Linked DNA regions of Homo sapiens: region 2 is linked to region 1. The links are contacts of gene promoters, found by promoter capture Hi-C in human tissues and cell types (Jung and others, 2019). All regions are on one chromosome and are shown on one strand. Each heading gives the region's core, a stretch centred on a gene start or on the middle of the fragment in contact. The rest is flanking DNA. Distances are from core to core; before and after follow the strand shown.

Region 1 (6,548 bases), core at 3,417-5,916:
ACACCAGTCCTGGTGGGGACATGGGAACATATGGAGAGGAGGGGAATTCCTTGGAGAGGGGCTGGCTTCAGATCAGTCAAAGGAGGTGGGGTCAAGAGAGAAGCCTACGTCTTATACTCGATGCTGTAGACCGTGTCTGGGGTGCCCTCCGGCCCGCTGTCCCACGTCAGGATGTTTTCAAAGTTGCTGGACTGGAATTTCACGTGCTGGAGCAGATCCGAGGGGTCCTCAGGGGCGTGAGCTGCAGGAGGGTGGGAGGAGGGTGAGCAGGGGCTTTCCCAGGGTCACCCTGCCCATGTATGGGCTCAGTCAGAGTCCTGCCCCATATAAATTTCATGCAAAGTGCCTTTGCTTTCAAGATGCCAGCCTGGTGGGTGGGCAGGGAGACCCTGGCCCCCAGCCTTCTACAAATGGACCAGCAAGAGGGGATGCTCCCCACGCTGTTCTAACCAACCATCCATTCTCAGCCATTTTGCTTTGCAATGGGTTGTGATTCACATTCCATAAATGTCACCACCTTACAGTGTTCAGTTCAATGGTTTCTTAGCATTTTCACAACGTTGTGCAATCATCGCTATTATCTAATTCCAGAACATTTTTAGCACCCCAAAAAGAAACTGCATGCCCATTAGCAGTCACTCCACCCATTCTTCTCCTCCCCTAAACCCTGACAACCACGAATCTACTTCCTGTGTCTGTGAATGTCCCTACTCTAGACTTTTTATGTAAATAGAGCTTGGCTGGCTTCTTTCACTTAGCATAATGTTTTCAAGGTTCACACGTGTGGTAGCATGGATTAGTACTTCCTTTTTAGGGCTGAATAATATTCCATTGTGTGATATACCACATTTTGTTTATCCACTCATCAGGACATTTGGGTTGTTTCTACTTTTTGGCTACCATGAATAATGCTGCTGTGAACACCGTGTTCAATTTTATAAGTGGACATATGTTTTCAGTTGTCTTGGGTATATATCTAAGAGTGGAATTTGGTAGGTTATATAGTAGCTCTATCTTTAACCTTTTGAAGAACTGTCGAACTATTTTCTAAAGTGGCCACACCATTTTTTTGGTCTTTGAGACAGGGTCTTGCTCTGTCCCCCAGGCTGGAGTGCAGTGGCGTGATCATGGCTCACTGCAGCCTCGACTTCCTGGGCTTAAGCAATCCTCGCACCTCAGCCTCCTGTGTAGCTGGGACTACAGACATGCACCACCACATCCGTCTAATTTATTTTTAAATTTTTTGTAGTGATGGGGTCTCATATATTGTCCAGGATGTTATGGCTGCACCATCTTAAATTCCCACCAGCATTGTTTGAGGGGTTCAGTTTCTCCACATCGCCATTGATGCTTGGTATTGTCTCTCATTCACTTTTTAACACAACCTGAAGTTGGTGTCCTCACCCTTATTTTAGAGATATGTAACTAAAGTGTGTAAGAAGTGACTTGCCCCAAGTTGATCAGATGAAGCAATGGTGGAGGAGGCGCTCTTGACTGAGCCCACACGTGGGCAGGGTGGCCTTGGGAAAGTTGTTTAAGCAACGAGAACTTCAATTGCCTCATCTCTAAAATGGATATAGTTTGATTTACCGAAAGACAAACAACAATGACAACAGCAGCCACTGGCATTTGTGAAGTGCACAGCCTCTTTCAGGCAAGTCCCTCCCTTCATTAAATCCTCACGACAACGTGCCCACTATCACTATCCCCATTTGATGAATGAGCTGAGGCTCAGAGAGAGCTGCCGCCCAGCATCACAGTTAGCATGTGAAGAACCTACAATATTCATCCCAGTGCTAGACTGGTTGTGGGGCGGATAGAGCGGGTTGGCGTCTGTGAATGTGTTTAGTGTCTAACAGGCCCCTATGTACATGTGTTGAGTCTGAAGGGAGGAGACCTGGGAAGGGAAGACATTCGCTCTGTAGGGAGGGGGCTATCTTGTTCACCCTTTTATATGAGGGTGGGGGGCTTCAGGGACCTGAGCACCTGATAAAGGGATGAATTTAGGGAGGAGGAGAAGAGAGAGGAGAAGAGAAGCTGGCCATTGAAGAGTCCACAGCCCTCTCTTCCAGGCTAGGTCTTTGTCCAGCCCACTTCTGCTTCTGTTAAGGGAAGGGCAGTGAGGGCCTGAGCCTCAAGGAAGGGGCTGGGGAGGGGCTGCAGCCTCTAAAGCAATCTGCACTGTAAACAAAGAGTCCTTAACTTATAAAACCCTTCCCTCAGGCCCCCAGGCTTGGGCTGTGGAGAGCAAGAGCCTGCGGGAAAATGGCGGCCCAAGCTGGCAGCTGGCTCGGAGCTCGGAGGCCCTGGCCGGCTGGCGTGGGAAATAAACAGGTGGGAAAATGTTAAGCAACCCCAGCTGGGTCAAGGCCTTGCGGCCTGGGTGTGTGTCTTGAATATGTCTGTGCCTCTCCTTCCCCAGACACGTCTACGACTGCCAGTGGGCCCAAGGTGTGAGGGAGCAGACAGTTATTGATTCCCCTACTCCAACTCTACACACAAGAGGGGTCCTCAGGCTTGGCGAGGACCGATGGGGACGGAAGAATGGTCCGACCCCGCTGCACATCCTCTGGCCAACCTCGAAGGCTGCCCTCCTCTCTGAATTTGGGTTCTGGCCCAGCAGCTGCAAAATGTCTTCAGGCTTCCTGGAGTCCCCAGAATGGGGCCTTAGGGATGGCGCGGGGAGGGGTCTACTGCCTCTACGCAAGGTGACGGCTGTGCCGTGGAGCCTTAGGATGTAGCTGACATCTTGTTTGGATGTGAGGCTGGGTGGAATTGGGGTCAGTTCTGGAGGGAGGGGTCCTGGATTCAGGGCTGAGTCTAAAGTTGAGGAAAGGAGTCCAGTCAAGGTCAGACCTGAACAGTGGCTTCTGGTTGGGTGGTGGGTCAGGGCAGAAGGGTGAGGGTGGGCTTTGAGAAGCCAGGCTCCATCAAGGCTTGGGGTAGAGTCTGCAGCGGGAACGGTTGCTGGTTGAGGTCAGTGTTCTGGGTGGGAAATAGAGGGCCCATCTGGGTTGCAAGGAGGCTGGTGGCTGAGGTGGGGGCATGTTGCCAAGGCAAAGGACCCTGGGCTACGTGGAGGTTGGCACCACTTTTCAGGAGGGAACTGCAGTTAGCTTCCTGAAGTGGGGTAAGTGAACCTAGGCCCACTCCTGTCTTTTAGGGATGTCAGGGTCTAACAAGATCTCCCCCTCTTCTCCCACCCTCCTCGCTCCTTTTCCTCCTCAAATCTATCATCCATTCCTCAGCCTGTGTTGCTTCGGCACTTCCCGGGTGAAAGTCTATATTGTGAAATCTGGGGAGACATGTGTTGTGTGGAGCCTGGCAGCCTGGCGGATTTATAAAAGGCAACTTGTTTTTTCACATTCATGTGGAAAAACAATGTTCTGTCAACCAGCTGGGAAGCTAAGGAAAAATACACAAACAAGAAACAATTCCACATGCTCTGGAGTCAGCCTAAGATTGGGGGGGTGAGGGCCCGGTGTGTGCAGCGCGAGGCAGCTGACCCTTGACAATCTCCTAAGGGCTATTTCTTGGGGTCCCCCATCTCAAAGGGCTGGGAGCCTCTAGGATTTCTAACCAGTATGGCTGAGGGTCTAAAGGGACGTGTCTTGGTGCCTCAAGGGGGTGCCTCACATCTTCCTGGAACGCCCAGCTTGATGCTGGGAAGCAGACTGGAGGGGGTCCCACAGAGCTGGAAGCCCTGGAGACGCAGGCAGCCCTGGCGGGACAGTGGCAGAGAAGGTGGGAAGCTCTGCCTTTTCGTGGGCCTCGTCCTGCACTTGAGCAAGGAGGGCCTGGCCGAGGCCATACCTGCTCGCCATCCTCAATCAGGACTATGCTTTGACTTCCTAAGGAAGTTCCCTGAATTTCATGCAATGCACCAGGAGAGCAGAGAGAGAGTCTAGGGTCTCATGTAACGTTCTCCATAATGATGAGCCCCCCACTCCGCTCACTTTATTGGCTTTGAACACTATGCCCTTAAGACCTGTTTCCAAATGAGTCCTGTGTCTTAAGACCTATTAATGTAGCAGACCTGGCCACTCTAGGAGAAAATGCTCTTTCAGATCTATGATAACAAAAGGGGCCAAAGAGGCCCTGCAGGGGCATGGAGGGAGGCAATAGTGAACTCAAGCTTCGTTTCCCCCGGTCCTTCCTCCTCCTCCCCTGTCAGGCCAGTGCCAAGTGAGAGGCAGAGGAAGGATGGTACAAACTGTGCCGACACCGTTTGAGGGACCGAAGGATGTCTGCCTCCTCCAGGCCAATTCTCCATTCACTGAGGTGCAGCGATCCAGCACCCCCAGTTCAGACAGCTGGCTATATCCCTCAAGACCCGAGGGTCCTTTGGGTCCCTGGAAGAACCCAGGGTCTGAGGCACCCTCTCATGCCCCCAGCAAACTAAGCTGGGCATTTGCTTCTCCGTGAACACCCGGCACCCTGCTCAGCCCTAGCAGGGGAGAAACTGAAACTGGCTATGCTCGGGCTGGGGAGGGTGCTGGGGAGATGACCCTGATCGTTGGCCCCTGGGATAAGGGAGGTCTGACCACAGGGTAGATGGGCACTCACCAGCCAGGGATCCCACAGTCAAGATGGTCAGCAGCGTCCTCATCGGGGCTGGCACAGAGCCCTCCCTTGGCCTCTACTCTGCCGTGCACAGAGAGAGGGCTGGGAGTCTTGGCGCCCTGGCAGCTGGCTCCACCCGGGCATGGGGCGGGGAGAAGGGGGTGGGTGGGACCTGTGCCGGTGGGGAGCAGGGGTACAAAGGTGTCCTGGCCCTGTGTGCTCTGGAATTCCAGGTTCTGGGCGGGATCTAAGGGAGTTCCCTTCCGACTTGCAGAAAACAGCAATAGTAACAGGCTGGCTTGTTTATCTGGTCCGGTGGCTGATTCATCCCAAGTGGTTTATCAAGGAGCTGAGGGGCAGAAAAGGCAAGAATAATCCACGATATGCAGCCTTATCAAAAAGCAATTTGGCACTGTGGATCAAAAGCCTACACCACATACATATCTTTTGCTTTAATAATTCTATTCCTAGGGGATTTACCCTGATGAAAATAACTGGACAACAGAGGGGGAAAAAAAAGGTCCCAGAATGTTTCTTGCAGCAAAGGAAAAGCTGTGACTCCTTTGCTTTTCTGGCAGGAGGAGATTGAGGGCACCCGATGCTCCTCCTTGATCCTCCATATCAAGGCAGGTCCCCACGCTTGGGGTGGGCTTGGGAACAGCTCTCCCCTAGAGAGGCCGTTGGGGGTGAGGAAGCCCAGCCGCTCTTACCTTGAGCCTTTGGGTCTAGGATCTGCAAAAGTTTAGAAAAAAAATGGAACTCAAACTTCAGTGATTCTTTCTGCTGTGCTAGAGATGGGGCTGAACTTCATGAATGGGGCTTTGGTTCGGGACGATGAAGATTCAGGCTGCTCTCCCATCATTTTGCCACGTAGGGCAGGATCTGCACATGAGCTTCGTGTGAATGAAGGGACAGGTGTTTAGGAAATGGTTTTCTCCTTCCTGCAGGGCCTGGAGAAGGTAGAAGGGCCCTGGGGCCTGGACTCTGGTCAGGGTGGACACGATTGGAGGGTCCTGCCCCTGGGGAGAGTTTGCCTGGCCCCAAGCACACAAAGGCAAGCGAAATTTTAGCAGGGATCCTGCCAACGGGTTGGGTGTAATGGGCTGTGATATGCTGAGATCGGTGTTTAAGTTTTTCTTTCCTGAATTGTAATTGTTATCAGCCCTGATTGCTAAAGTTTGTTTGACAAAACAGCCAAATCTAAGCTGTGCTTTGGAGGAATTAAGGTAGGGCCCATGCCAGTCATTTCCTGAAACTGCAGGAAACTACATTTTCTAGACTCCTTTATCAACTGCTTTCTGATAGGTTTAGCCCCTGGGGGAAGACTGGGGAGGCAGAGATCAGAGCATTTCTCCCCTCGTTTTCTGTTTGAGTGGCTTCCCCAGCAATGGCCATATCCCTCTGCAGTTCTGGCTCCCTCTGGACAGTCCATCAGCCAGGCAACCCCTTATGTCTTTCTTGTTCCTGTTTGGAGGCCAGCTCCTGGCTCTGGCAACACCTTCTCCCCTCATCTTTCCTTTCAGTTGGTGGGATGGCACAGCTTCCTGCTTTGGGGAAATCTCTGAACTGTCTGTCCTGATTAGTGTCCCAGCTCCTTCATCCTCTGGGTGACGAGCTCCTTTACATTAAAGTCCCTTGGTCTGAAAGACTGGAGAGGTTTCTGTGCTACTGAATGAACCATGATGGATAGAGGGTTTTTGATGACTTTGATGACAAGGCAGTGTGGGGAAGCTACAGCGAGAAAAACAGGTTACAAGGGACGCTTAGGGAGAAGAGCAGGCTTTGGTCCCAAGTGGCTGGCCGAGAGGACAAGACGCAGCCCCAACAGGTCTGTGGAACACGAAAGTGTTCCTTGGGGCCTCTCAGAAGCACTGGAAGAAGGAACTTGATGGAGGAAAAGGGCATCCTGTAGTTTCGAGGGCCTGTGGTTATGTAGGAATTAACGGGAAGGAAGACACCTGGATTGCTAAGGAATGTGGGAACAC
Region 2 (6,927 bases), core at 3,353-5,852, 630 kb after region 1:
TGAACTCTTCTTTGTTTCCATATGAGCTATCTTGTTTCCCTGAAGCAACCTTTCCCATCTCTTCCATTCCCATTTGTTTAAACTCCATAATCCTGTAAATCTCCATTTAAATGTGTCTGCCTTTGTTAATCCTTCAAGATTCATATTTCATGCCTCTTATATGACTCTTCGGTTATCTATTTTGTTGATAGTTTTGCATGTATGTCTTATCTTTGCTATAATAAAGTAAGCTCCAGGAGAGTAGATTCCTTGTCTTATTCATCTTTGCGTCCACCACGATATTTAGTAGATTGTCTGCCTCATAATAGGCATTCAGTAAGTCTTATTGAATGAGTAAATGCACTTAAGTATAGTTGATAGACCTTAACCTACTGCTAGTAAATTATAGTTGGCTAAAAATATTCTTTATAAGTGCTGTGCTTTGGAAAAGGATCATCTGCTTAGCAGCACTGTTTGGTGGGTAGTTGTTGCCCAGGCTGGAGTGCAATGGCACAATCTCTGGCTCACCGCAACCTCCGCCTCCCGGGTTCAAGCGATTCTCCTGCCTCAGCCTCTCGAGTAGCTGGGATTACAGGCATGTGCCACCACACCCGGCTAATTTTGTATTTTTAGTAGAGACGGGGTTTCTCCATGTTGGTCAGGGTGGTCTCGAACTCCCAACCTCAGGTGATCCACCTGCCTTGGCCTCCCGAAGTGCTGGGATTACAGGTGTGAGCCACCACGTCCGGCCAAGGCTCACACTTATAATCCCAGCACTTTGGGAGGCGAGGCAGGTGGATTGCATGACCAGCCTGGACAACATGGTGAAACCCTGTCTCCACAAAAAATGCAAAAATTAGCTGTGTATTGAGGCACACGCCTATGGTCCCAGCTACTTGGGAGGCTGAGGTGGGAGGATTGCTTGAGCCCAGGAGGCGAAGTTTGCAGTGAGCCAAGATAGTGCTACTGTACTCCACCCTGGGCGACAGAGCAAGACCCTATCTCAAGGGAAAAAAAAAAAAATTCATACTCTGGTATCTTCTGGCATTTCACAGAAGGGCATCTGGATTCCTGCCAAAATTGATTCTTTTGTCTTTTATTAAAAATAATCTTTCAAGCAAATTTGAGATTCACCACTAAAGCCCTAAATTTGTTTTTATTTACTTTGTGTTTTAACTCTCTCTCACTGCAGGTTTGTTGTTGTTGTTGTTGTTGGTTTTTTGGTAAGTACAGAGACTACAAATTTAAAAAATCTTTCATTAAACATGTCTTTACTAAGTGCCTACTAGGAACTGCTCTAAGCTCTGGGAAGCAAGAAAATGTACCCTCAGGTGTCAGTAATGAATGAGCTATAAGGAAGGCGTACTATACACAATTATCTTAGATGGGATAATATTTTCCACTAGAGTTATTGTAACTCACTGCCTGGGAGGCCTTTTCACTTCTAGGAAGATCTGGTTTTCCTATATTTAGAATAGATACTGTTCCCATTGACTGTTTTCTGTTGGATTTCTTAAATGCATGAGATAGAAGAAGTATATATGGAAAAGCATTTCATATTTAATTGAAATAATATATACATTTATGGAGTGCTTTCTATGTGCCAGGCACTGTGTTGACTACATCTATGAAATATTAACTCATTTGATTGTTACTCAATAAAATGTTTGCTGAAGGAATATATAGAAGCTTTTATTTTTTTCCGTGCACAGGCTTAATTTCAGAGGAGGTTGGGAGGAAAAGAAGAACTAAAAGATCACATGATTGGGAAAAAGCAAATGCCTAACAAGAAGCCAGAGAAATAGGTCGAGAGGGTGATGCAAATGACTGGGCTCAGTTCATATTTTAGATTGAAATAAACAGATTTACTTGTTTTTCCTTGCAAAGTAAAAAAGTTTTAAGGGAGAGTCTGCAACTGTGTTTTGACCCTGAGCATGTGGCTTGATAGCCATTAAGATTAGGAGTGTTGAGAGCAGCTATTGTCCTGATGACTCAGCAGGAACCCCTGTGTTAGATTATACCGTTGCCTCCGTATTGCATGTAAAAAGTTCTTTATATCTTTTGAAATATTTGAGATCATAGATCCCAAAATCAGAGCCAGGGATGATTGTTTACTTGAAGTATCATTTGTATTTTTCTTTCCTTCTTTTTCTTCTTTCTTTCTTTCTTTTTTTTTTTTTTGAGACAGAGTCTCGCTCTGTGACCTAGGCTGGAGAGCAGTGACGCCATCTTGGCTTACTGCAACCTCCACCTTGTGGGTTCAAGCAATTCTCCTGCCTCAGCCTCCCAACTAGCTGGGATTACAGGCGCCCACCATCATGCCCGGCTAATTTTTAAAATTTGTTTAAATTTTAATTTTAGTTTTTTTTCTTTTGAGATGGAGTCTCGCTCTGTTGCCAGGATGGAGTGCAGTGGCGCGATCTCAGCTCACTGCAGCAGCCTCCACCTCCCGAGTTCCAGCTATTCTCCTGACTCAGCTTCCTGAGTAGTTGGGACTATAGACGTGCCACCACGCCCAGCTAATTTTTGTATTTTTAGTGGAGACAGGGTTACACCATGTTGGCCAGGATGGTCTCAATCTCTTGACCTCCTGTTCCACCCACCTTGGCCTCCCAAAGTGCTGGGATTACAGGTGTGAGGCACCACGCCCGGCCTATATTTTTAATAGAGACAGGGTTTCACCATGTTGGCGAGGCTGATTTTGAAATCCTGACCTCAAATGATCCACCTATCTTGGCCTCCCAAAGTGCTAGGAATATAGGCATGAGCCACTGCACCTTTTTTCTTTTTTTTAGATATCAGGTCTTGCTATGTTGCCCAGACGGTTTTTTTTTTTTTTTTTTTTTTTTTTTTTTTTTTTTTTTTTTTTTTTTGAGACGGGGTCTCACTCTGTCACCCAGGCTGGAGTGCAGTGGCACAATCTCAGCTCACTGCAACCTCCGTCTCCTGGGCTCAAGTGATTCTTGTGCCTCAGCTTCCCTAGTAGCTGGGACTACAGACATGTGCCACTGCAACTGGCTAATTTTTTTGTATTTTTAGTAGAGACATAGTTTCGCTATGTTGGCCAGGCTAGTCTTGAACTCCTGGCGTGAAGTGATCCGCCCACCTTGCCCTCCTGAAGTGCTGGGATTATAGGTGTGAGCCACCACGCCTAGCCAGTATTTCTGTCTAGGTGCTGAAATAGTTTCTTTTGGAATTGAAGACCATTTGAATTAATATTTCAAGTAGGCAATTGAGTCATCATAATGGAAGACTGGATCTTTAGTATTATGCTGTTAGAGTATGCAGTGTCCAGTCTTTTGGCTTCCCTGGGCCACACTGGAAGAAGAATTACCTTGGGCCACACAAAAAATACACTAACAATAGCTGATGAGCTAAAAAAAAAAAAAAAAAAAAAAAAGAAAAAGAAAAGAAAAACCAAAAAAACCTTATAATGTTTTAAGAAAGTTTATGGATTTGTGTTGGGCTTCATTCAAAGTGGTCCTGGGCCACATGTGGCCCACGGACCTCAGGTTGGACAAGCTTGATGTAGTGGCTAAGAGTGTGGACTCCCGAGCCATGTGGCCTGTGTTTGAATCCTAGTTCTACCCTTCACTAGTTGCCTTGGTGTCCCCACTGGGGTAATCTTGGGCTTTTGTAAAGATTATAAGAGTTAATATAAGAAAAGCCCTTAGAGTCTAACTCATAGTAAGCCTTGTTTGCTTACTATTTTGCCTTTAGGAATGCAGAATTAAGACCATGTTGGCTTGGCCTATGGTTAGTTTATTATATTCAATATACCATATGTGGTTTCAACCTTCAGGATTAGAAGCATCTGCCAGACTGCCACTACCACCAGGTGGGAACTTTTCATTCTTTATCAAAAGAGCAGGGTTAGTACAAAAAAAGTTCAAGGTTAAGCTTGAGTTTGCTCTTGAATTAACTTCAGTGAACCCTGATCCTGTTGACACTTACTAGGTAACTAAAGGACAGTCAGATTGGACTCTGCCATCTTAGTCCATCGGCCTCAGCAGCTCTTGCTGGACTTGTAGCTAAAGCTTGAGAGTCCATTAGTAGTGAGAATGTTTTTCTTTTTTTCCTCTCTCTCTTTTTTGTTAATGTGAAAGTGCAAAAGTAAAGAGGAATAATCTATGACATAGGATCTTATTGGTTCTGTACAAATACTCTTAATTAAAAATTTTTAATTAAAATTATATATATATATATTTTTTTTGGCATGGAGTTCCGCTCTGTCGCCCAGGCTGGAGTGCAGTGGCATGATCTCGGCTAACTACAACCTCTGCCTCCCAGGTTCAAGCAGTTCTGCCTCAGCCTCCCGGGTAGCTGGGATTACAGGCGCTTGCCACCACGCTTGGCTAATTTTTGTATTTTTAGTAGAGACGGGATTTCTCCATGTTGGTCAGGCTGATCTCGGACTCCTGACATGAGGTGATCCGCCCTCCTTGGCCTCCCAAAGTGTTGGGATTACAGGTATGAGCCACCACGCCCAGCCAAAATTTTCATTTTTTTAAGATATGGGGATCTTGCCATGTTGCCCAGGCTGGTCCCAAATTCCTGAACTCAAGTAATCCCCTTGTGGTGGCGTCCCAAAGTGCTGGGTAAAAGTACTTTTGAATTATGGATTTTGGCTTCCTGTGCTACCAAATTTCACTATTTCTTGATTTTTGTGGTATTCACCTTTACAACTGAACAGGTCATATATTAACTAGCCTTTATCTAATGCTTTCTTTAAAGGAAATGTAGACGTGCTTATATTTTTAACACATCTACATTTCTCTTAAAGAGAAGAGATTAAGCTCTTTTTATTTAATTTGTCTGGAAGAAGTTGAGATAGTGTAGATCTACAGGTTTTATATTTAGTAATTTTTAAGGAGTAAAAATGAAGTCTTCTAATTTTTCTAGACTCTATCTAAGATTATTGTTTTTAGACTTTTTCATCTTATACCACAATGAGATGATAAAGCTTAAAACATTAACATGTCGGCCGGGTGCGGTGGCTCACGCCTGTAATCCCTGTACTTTGGGAGGCTGAGGCGGTCAGTCAGGAGTTCGAGACCAGCCTGGCCAAGATGGTGAAACCCCATCTCTACTCATAATACAAAAATTAGGAGGCATGGTGGCATGTGCCTGTAGTCCCAGCTACTCGGGAGGCTAAGGCAGAAGAATCACTTGAACCCAGGAGGTGGAGGTTGCAGTGAGCCGAGATTGTGCCACTGCACTCCAGCCTGGGCGACAGAGTGAGACTCTGCCTCACCAAAAAAAAAAAAAAAAAGAAAAAGAAAGAAAACTTTAGCATGTCTGTAATTGGTAGATATAATCTCTATCATTTATTTAATGATAATTAAAAATAGCGGGGCATGGTGGCACATGCCTGTGGTCTCAGCTACTAGTGGGGCTGAAGCAGGAGATTGAGGCTGTAGTGAGCCACTCTGATTGCACCACTCCACTCCAGCCTGGGTGGCAGAGTGAGACTCTGTCTCAAAACAAAAGAAAACAAACAAAAAAACATAATGTAAGAATCATGAAGTGACTTTAAAATCTTTATTTTATAATAATGTTATAAGTTTTCTGAAGCTACTTAATTTATCACTATACAGAATAAACAGATATATAAAAAATGATCAGTAAGTTTTTGTTTCCCTACTAAAGCCAGAATAATGGTCATGAGGTAATAGATAGCATTGGGTGCTTACTATGGGCCAGGCACAGTGTGCCAGCCGTTTGCATGTGTTAGCTAATTTAATCCTCATATAAACTTTGAAATAGGTGCTATCAATACTGTTTAACACATGAGAATTAGAGAGATCATTGTTTGGGTATGGTTGCAGGGCCAGTAAGTAGCAGTACTGTGATTTGTACTAACGTCTTTGGGATTTCAGAACCTGAATCAATAACTTTGTTTATGTTATTTTTCTCTATTTATTTGAAACTTGAATGCTTTCCTAACAGAATTTCTTATGTTCTGTTTTCAGTCACCCTGAAAAAAAAATTCTGAGAATATTTAAGGATATTTCTAAAACATACTAACAACTAGTGAGCCTAGATGGTTCATTAGATGACTTTGGTTGCTTTCAGTTCTCTTGGTAAAATTTGAAAGGCAACTAAAATTTCCATTACCTCACCTCGTTGCATTTTGGGGGCCTGGTTAATTAGTATTTTATAAAGCACTTTAGAGGGTTTATTTATAAACTTGTTAAGGAACCTGACTTGAATGTCTTTTTTTTTTTTAAGGCAGAGTTTCACTGTTGCCCAGGATGGAGTGCAGTGGTGTCATCACAGGTCACTGCCACCTTGACCTCCTGGGCTCAAGTGATCCTCCTCCTTTAGCTCCCTGAGTAGCTGGGACTTGCAGTGCCACCATGCCCAGCTAATTTTTTTTAAATTAATTTTTTTGTGGAGATGAGGTCTCACTGTGTTGCCTAAGATGGTCTTGAACTCCTGGACTCAAGTTATCCTCCCACTTTGGCCTCCCATTACAGGCATGAGCCATTGTGCTTGGCCTCACATATTTTGATTTTAGGATTGTTTTCCAATTGAGAAATGTCTAAATGGTTCAAGTTTAACAAAAATCATATACTAATTTGTTAATTATTTTTCTGTGAGTTCTTTTCTTTCTGCCCTCTCCCTTTCTCCCTTCCTCCCCCTTCAGAGGTTGGTAGAAAAAAAAAAAAAAGGCAAGGAAGTTTCTTTTTGTGGAGAGAGGAAATGACTGTTGGTTCAAGACTTTATCCATATTAGGTATAAACTAAATATAGACGTGTAATCCAGGAGTGAAGTCACATCTATAAAGTTTCTTAAGCAAAGCTAATGAGATCAGCCAGTGCTTTTGGATCTGTTTTTTCCCCCCTTGCTTTTGGCTCACTTACCAAACTGATTAGTCTTATAGTCTGCCTGCCTTTGCTTCTTTAAAAAAAGAATAAAAAAATTATAAGGAATCTTTCTGTAAAA

The links. Contacts are between HindIII fragments. The study calls those that stand out against the background at their distance.
Region 2: a contact is called between a fragment that was not itself captured here and the fragment with the promoter of IL22RA1 in region 1, in 1 of the 25 tissues and cell types used here (aorta).

The regions. Positions count from the first base shown.
Region 1 is chr1:24,138,474-24,145,021 of GRCh38, forward strand. It overlaps IL22RA1 (interleukin 22 receptor subunit alpha 1), which reads right to left and starts at 4,667. Exons shown (of 7, transcript NM_021258.4): 1 at 4,567-4,667; 2 at 109-241. The coding sequence starts at 4,609. The HindIII fragment of the contact is 7,521 bases long and covers 2,057-6,548 here.
Region 2 is chr1:24,763,670-24,770,596 of GRCh38, forward strand. The region is part of intron 1 of CLIC4 (chloride intracellular channel 4); the gene reads left to right. Among named protein-coding and RNA genes, the nearest start is that of CLIC4, 22 kb to the left of the region's middle. The HindIII fragment of the contact is 4,036 bases long and covers 2,585-6,620 here.